Linked DNA regions of Homo sapiens: region 1 is linked to region 2. Evidence: promoter capture Hi-C in 16 types of primary human blood cells and fetal thymus (Javierre and others, 2016). All regions are on one chromosome and are shown on one strand. Each heading gives the region's core, a stretch centred on a gene start or on the middle of the fragment in contact. The rest is flanking DNA. Distances are from core to core; before and after follow the strand shown.

What was found. Contacts are between HindIII fragments. The CHiCAGO score rates a contact against its expected background, and 5 or more counts as called.
Region 1: a contact is called between a fragment that was not itself captured here and the fragment with the promoter of ARNT2 in region 2, in 1 of 17 cell types (M0 macrophages). The highest score is 5.1, in M0 macrophages.

The regions. Positions count from the first base shown.
Region 1 is chr15:80,965,270-80,969,087 of GRCh38, reverse strand. It overlaps a transcript of MESD not described here. Among named protein-coding and RNA genes, the nearest start is that of MESD, 23 kb to the left of the region's middle. RefSeq lists an enhancer at 1,971-2,486. The HindIII fragment of the contact is 704 bases long and covers 1,706-2,409 here.
Region 2 is chr15:80,402,932-80,406,400 of GRCh38, reverse strand. ARNT2 (aryl hydrocarbon receptor nuclear translocator 2) reads right to left here and starts at 2,019. Exons shown (of 19, transcript NM_014862.4): 1 at 1,855-2,019. The coding sequence starts at 1,885. It overlaps ARNT2-DT (ARNT2 divergent transcript), which reads left to right and starts at 2,205. Exons shown (of 6, transcript NR_184070.1): 1 at 2,205-2,410; 2 at 2,816-2,899. RefSeq lists an enhancer at 2,088-2,588. The HindIII fragment of the contact is 4,789 bases long and covers 1-3,469 here.

The sequences.
Region 1 (3,818 bases), core at 808-3,307, 560 kb before region 2:
TCCTGGGTAGCTGGGACCACAGGTGTGCACCATCACACCCAGCTAATTTTTTAATATTTTTTGTAGAGACAGGGTCTCCCTATGTTGCCCTGGCTGGTCTTGAACTCCTGGGTTCAAGCAATCCTCCCACCTTGACCTCCCAAAGTGTTGGGATTACAGGTGTGAACCACTGTGCCCGACCTCATTTACCCTTCACAACCCCACAAGGTTGGTATTAGTTAACATTTACTATGTGGCCCTTTGAAGCACAGTTCTGGTGTTGGACTTCCCAGCTCTGCATTTTATTAGCTGTATCATGTTGGACAAGTTATTTAAGGACCTCACTCATCTAAGCCTGTAGGTGCTAATAAAAGTTCCCATTTCAGAGAAGTATTATAAGGATTAAATGAGCAAGTCCCTGTGAAGCACTTAACACAGCTTTCTTTTTTATTTTATTTTTAAAGTAAAGAGGTGGGGTCTCACTATTTTACCTTGGCTGGTCTTAAACTCCTGAGCTCAAGCGATCCTCCCACCTTGGCCTTCCAAAGGAGTACAGGTGTGAGCCACTGTGCCTGGCCAACAGAGCTTTCAGTACATGTTAACTATTATCATTTGTGTGTGTGTTTTGTGCTTCAGGTGACTAGACAGAAGCTTGTAGGGGTTAAGCCCCTTGCTGAGAGTCACAGCTAGGAGAAGGCAGGATAACATCCTGCCTGGGCTGTTTTCTTCTGGAGGCACTGCAGTTTTCACTGTGGCTTGACACTCTAAGGGAGGGGCTGGGATGGAATTCTACATGGGCCACAGAGATTGCTCCAGAAGGAGAATGGCCACCTTGCCCAGTGTAGGGTATGCCAGAGCAGAGCGGGTCAGCTTCCTTCCAGGCAGAAACATCTGCCGTTCCCACCACCTTGGTGCTCTGCTCTCAGATACCTGCATGGCTGAGGACCTGCTCTCAGGTGAGATGGTTTGCCCTGAAAGGGGCAGAGCTGCCAGAGTCCAAGCGGTCTGCAGGAGACTGCAGTTTGACCATGCTGCTTGCTGGTACAAGGAAATTTTTGGTAGGCAGATTTCAGGAGGTCCCACGCAAGTGTCACAAGCCAGAAACTTGAGATGTTGGACCCCTTTCCACTTGATCCAGCATCTGGGAAAACCTGAGCCTGCAGTTGGGGCCACTTGGCCAACTCTCCATAGATCTTGTTGAATCAGCTTAAACCTGGGCTTGTCAAATTCTGGATCTCAGCAGCCCAACTTGCAATTTTAAATCTTTGACCACTGTTCCCTGGCAGACCTAGGGCAATTTTTGTTTTCTCCAGAGAAGTCTGCCGAAGTTTCTGAGGTGAAGTTTCCAAGCTGATGAATTGGAAGCCCAGACTTGGCAGCTCTCAGCCAAGGAGGGCTGCAGTTGGTGGAATGTGAAGAATGCCCAGGGACATCTGGTCTGCCTTGCATCTGTTTTTCAGGCCAGCCCGCATTCTTCCTGCAGGAGAGAGCTTCAGCCATAGGCCTAGAAACACTGGGGCCCCTTTGATCCATGCCTCCTACCTCAGCTCCAAGTTGGACGACATTGAGTGCCATACTTGCTTTCCCTGGGCCTTACCTCTTCTATAAACAGGGTGGCAAGTCCTGCCAGGCCTGGGATTTACATGCCAGGGTCTGGAAGAAACAAGACAATAGGGATCCTTATTCTAATGCAAAGGAGGTCCCTGACTCCCTTAGGATAGAAGCTTCCTTACAAATTCTCTGAGGTCCTTGCTCTAAATTAAAACTCCCTGAGGGCTCCTACTTCTTTTCTTTTCTTTTTTCTTTTTCTTTTTTTGAGATGGAGTTTCACTCTTGTTGCCCAGGCTGGAGTGCAATGGTGTGATCTCGGTTCACCACAACCTCCACCTCCCGGGTTCAAGTGATTCTCCTGCCTCAGCCTCCCAAGTAGCTGGGATTACAAGCATGCACCACCATGCCCAGCTAATTTTGTATTTTTAGTAGAGGCGGGGGTTTCTTCATGTTGGTCAGGCTGGTCTCGAACTCCTGACCTCAGGTGATCTGCTCACCTAAGCCTCCCAAGTGCTAGGATTACAGGAGTGAGCCACTGCGCCCGGCCAAGGGCTTCTACTTCTAGTTTTAAAATCAATGCCTTGAGCGCATCACCTCGATGGGCCTCAGTTGGAATGGGCCAGCATTTCCCAGAGGAATTTAACCAGCGGAACTGCCCAATAAGGAGGAGTTGGCCACTTCAAGCCAGTTATTTGGGCTTTTGAGATGCAGAATCAGGAGGAAGAGAAGAGGTGCAAAGGTTGTGGAGCAGAGAGGCAGCAGGGTATGGAAGAAGAGGGCCTGAATCAAATACACACACCCACAGTGTACAGTGGCAACTATGCAAGGTGCTTGTAGCTTGCAACAGAGGGATTTTCCAAGGGAGGCCAGAGAAAAGCTTCCTGGAGCAGGTGGCCACTAAGCTGAGATTTGAGCAGGCATGAGTGGACACAGAGGCAGCCTGGAAGCTGGGGGCAGTGGCACAGCAGGAGGGGTGGAAGCTTGGTTTGTGTGTGTGTGCACATGTGTGTGTGAACACACCTCTAATATGGGGAGCACTGGGCCCGTTGAGCTCTCAGGTCTCTCTGTCTGTAATACTCTGTGACTTTCAGAAACCAAAGGGCCTCTGCCACTGGCTCTGCAAATGAGTAGTTTGTTATTACAAACCCTTTGTAAATATTATTTTGATGAGGTATAATAGTTCATCAAATGAGGCCATAATTTATTTGGTCATTTCTGTGTAGATGAACATTTAGGTTATTTGAACCTGTCAAGTCATTATAAATAATGCTACAATGAGCATCTTCATACCCATGCTCTATTTCATTAGGCTAAATCCCCAGATATGTATGTAATTAGTAGGTCCAAAAAAAAAAATGATGATGATTCTTTTAAAGTTCTTGATTGGTTATGCTAAGTATTTTCTAAAATGGTTATTTCTAACTTTCAAAAACTTTATCATGGAAATATCTTAAATGTACACACAAAAAATAGAGTGGGTCACCATTCCTTGTCACCCAGTTCTAATAATTATCAACATTTTAATAATCATTTTTAATCTTTATTTTGGGGAGGAGGCTATACCTCAATTTAGCCAATTTGTTTTTTCTTTTCTTTTTTTTTATTATTATACTTTAAGTTCTAGGGTACATGTGCACAACGTGCAGGTTTGTTACATAGGTATACACGTTCCATGTTGGTTTGCTGCACCCATCAACTCATCATTTACATTAGGTATTTCTCCTATTGCTATCCTTCCCCCAGTCCCCTACCCCACAATAGGCCCTGGTGTGTGATGCTCCCCTCCCTGTGTCCATGTGTTCTCATTATTCAGCTCCCATTTATGAGTGAGAACATGCAGTGTTTGGCTTTCTGTCCTTGTGATATTTTGCTGAGAATGATGGTTTCCAGCTTCATCCATGTCCCTGCAAATAACATGAACTCATCCTTTTTTATGGCTGCATAGTATTCCATGGTGTGTATGTGCCACATTTTCTTTATCCAGTCTATTATTGATGGACATTTGGGTTGGTTCCAAGTCTTTTCTATTGTGAATGGTGCCACAATAAACATATGTGTGCATGTGTCTTTATAGCAACATGATTTATAATCCTTTGGGCATATACCCAGTAATGGGATTGCTGGGTCAAATGGTATTTCTAGTTCTAGATCCTTGAGGAATTGCCACACTGTCTTCTACAATAGTTGAACTAATTTACACTCCCACCAACAGTGTAAAAGTGTTCCTGTTTCTCCACATCCTCTCCAGTATCTGTTGTTTCCTGACTTTTTAATCGCCATTCTAACTG
Region 2 (3,469 bases), core at 770-3,269:
TTTTGAAGTAGTTGAATGGGTTGAAATTGCAGCTTCAGTCACAGGCAAACTGGCACAGATTTGTTTTCAGACCAGCCACGTTCCTCCTCAGTGTTCTGGACAGAGGCCTCCTTGTCTGTTCTTCCAAGAGTCCCTATTTCTGCTGATGGAACTGCCTTCCTTGGAATTACACAGGCTCTTCACCTTGGTGTCTCCATGGACACCTCCCCTTTGTCTCTCCTTGGCCTCCTCCTTTACTCTTACTCCAAATCTAATCAGTGCCAAATCTGGAACTCTTCTACCCGCCCAGTGGTGCATTCCTTCCTCTCTGGTCCAGCCATGGCCACCAATTCTGGCCTCCCCAGCACCTGCCTCATTTCATGCTGGCCTCCCTGTCTCAAGTCTTGTTCCCTCCTTAGAATGTTTCCTAGACATAGCTGACAAATCAGTCTTCCAGAAAAAGTGATCATGCGATTTCCTTGTTCAATACCATTGAGGTCTCTCTCTCTCTCTCTCTGTCTCTCTCTCTCTTTTCTATTTTATTTTATTTTTCTGGTTCTTAGGAAGTGTGCAGAGGACTCTCCCTTAATGTGGAGAGAGAAAGTCCATACTCCTCAGTCTGTCCTTTAAAGCCTGGTCACATCCAAACAACTCAGTGTTAAATCCCACTGCTGCCTCTTATATCCCCAGTGCACCAACTACTCACTGACCTCTGCACTTGCTTAGAGCAAGTCCACTGTTACTTACGCCTGCAATGCCCCTCTGCTACTGGCTCTGTATATTCAAACATTCCCGTTTTCAAGGTTCAGCCGAAATGTCCAATCTCCAGAAGCCTTCCCTGGCCGCCTTAGATGAAAGGGATCTTTCATTCCTAATTCTATGATGAGAGACACTTTTCTTTGCTAGGCATTGCTGTTCCTCCCCCGACCCTCCCTATCTCCAACACATGACCTCCCTCTGCTGGGAATTTCCTGGGGGCCGCCCTCTGTGACTCTCCCTGCATCTTCCACAGGGACCCAGCAACCTGCCGTGCCCACAGCAGCCTCTGCACAACACCCAAAAGTTTGTACTAGCTTAGATGTTCACGTTTCTCTTCTCCCACACCCTGCTCATCAGGTAGGGAACTTTCCCAGTGAAAACGGAACTTCCCTACTACAATACCAAAACAAGTCAATGTTGCCACTTGATCAAGAACTCTTCCATTTTTGAAATATTTCCTAATGAGCTCAGTTGTCACAGACTGCACCCTGGGGACAGGTCAGACCAGAAAGCAGAGGATGTCACCTGGGCAGGACCAGGGCTGCTCCACGCTGGTGACCACAGGCTGGGTGTTTTGTGCCCCCGGAGGGTTAGGACACACAGCAGCCAGTCGCAAAGGGCGCAAAGGACCAGCGCTTAGTGGGCGGGGCGGGCAGGGGAGAGTCCCGGGAGTTGTACCCTGTTGAATCCCAGCTCCAAACTTTTCCCTCCGTCAGCGCGGAGCCCTCCACCAGCCAGGACTGGCTGACGCCGTGATGCCACAAAAGCCGGGACCGGAAGAGAAAAATGCGTGGGATGGGGAAGGCAAAGGCGGTTATTTTCAGAACTTCGGGGGCTCCCGGGCCTGCCCTTCGGGTTCCCGAGGATGCGAGGCCAGCGTCCGGCCGCCCGCGGGTCCGGACCGGCGCCTGCCCGGGACCGGATGGGCAGCGATTGGGATGCAGATGCCGCTCTGGTGCTGATGCTGCGGCTGCCGCGTAGTGACAGCCGCTCCACCACCCACCGCGCCGAGCTGCGGCTCCGCGCCCCCGGGGGCGCCCGGCGCGCCTGGTCCGCTCCGGCCCCGGGCAAGGCCTGCGGGCTGCGGCGGGCGGCGGGGCCCAGGCCGCTACTCACCCGGAGGGTTGACCGCCGCCGGGGTTGCCATCTTGCTCGGAGAGGATAGGCGCCCGCTTGGCAGGGGCGCGGGAGGGGCGGCGCGGAGCCCGGCGCTCAGCCCCGGGGACCCGGTCAGGCCCAGGCGCCGCCGCCGCCACACAAAGGACGGCGCGGGCGGGCGGCGCTCCCTCCGCTCTCCCCGCCGCCGCGGCCGCTCGCCGTCCCCGCCTTTCTCTCCTCCTCCTCCCCCTCCTCGGCCTCCTCCTCCCGGTTCAGCCTTTGTCGCGCGGCGGGGGGCGCCCGGCCCGCGGCTCCCCGGTCAGAGCGGTAGCACCGCGAGACTTGGGGCTGCGGACGGCGGGACCCCCAAGTTGGGCGCCGGCGACTGGCGGGGGCAGAGGGCCGGGCGCTCCCTCGGGCTCGCGCAGGTGCTCGGGCCTGGCCGGGCTGGGACCGCAGGCGCCTCTCCCGCGCTCGCCTAGCCCGGGCTGCCCCCGCACGCCCACGCCCCAGGTGTCCGGGCGCGCTTTACCCAGGGGCGCCGTGCCCAGGCCAGGAGGCCAGGGCGGAGCGGGTGAGGGAGAAGCCCATTTAGATTCAGAGGGAAGCCGGTCCTGGGAGACGGCCGCGAGGAACAAAGGCGCCCCAGTGCTGCCCACTTAGCATGCCAGAGCCGCGCTGCTCGGCTCCCAGGCCGGGGACACGGCCCGGTGTTAAGCGGAGGGTGCCCGACCGCGGGAATTCCTAAGGCCACGCGCACCTCCAAGGCCACCGCCGCACACAGCTTCGGAGTGCACAGTGCACACGCCCAGGCACAGGCAGCCGGCCCGAGAAATTGTGAATGTCTTGGCTTTGAGTAAGGCGCTCATCTCTACCCTCCTTCCATAATGACTGCCGTTGATTATTACTTGAGGGCGCTGCAAGGGCCTTATTTACACCACCAAGTTGAGAATTTAAAAAGATTTTTTTTTTTAAATAGGTTTATCTGCGTATCCTGGCGAAGTTTGGATGCAGAGAACTTGGAGCTGTTGTTTTCTACCAGACACTAGGATCCCTGAGAGAGGTAATGGCCCCTAGGAAGGACACGTCACCATCGGGGTCCCCTGTAAAGGTTAAATGGAAGAATAAAGACATCCCAGGTGAACGCTGAGAAGGGCAAGTTGGTCCCTAAACGCAGATAATGTTTGCAGAGACATCAAACTGTCTTAAATCCTTCCAAGGAAGCATTTTCTGGAGGGCAGAAAATTTGGGATGTATGTTCAAATAAGCATTTTCTTCGGGGAGTATTTGTCACTACTAATCTAATAGTCTATCAGTTCTACAAATGTTGAATGTCTGCTGTGTGCCAGGCACAAAGCCAGGTGTTGGGCCTACCATGGAAAGGAAGAAACAGGAGCTCTGTTCTTCTGGTTTGGGGGGTAGAGTGGGGAAGAGTGAAACAAAGTATCTGCACTCAAGAAGCACACAGCTCCCTTGGGGGCTTAGGGCAGAAGCCCTGAAATTGGCATCTCCAGCCTGTAGTCACTAATGAATGAATGAGGGCAGAGAGGAGGTGGAGTGATCAGGGAAAATGAAAATTAGGCTTTGAAGACATGAGTAGGACAGGTGGAAAAAGAAGACATTTCAAGTAAAA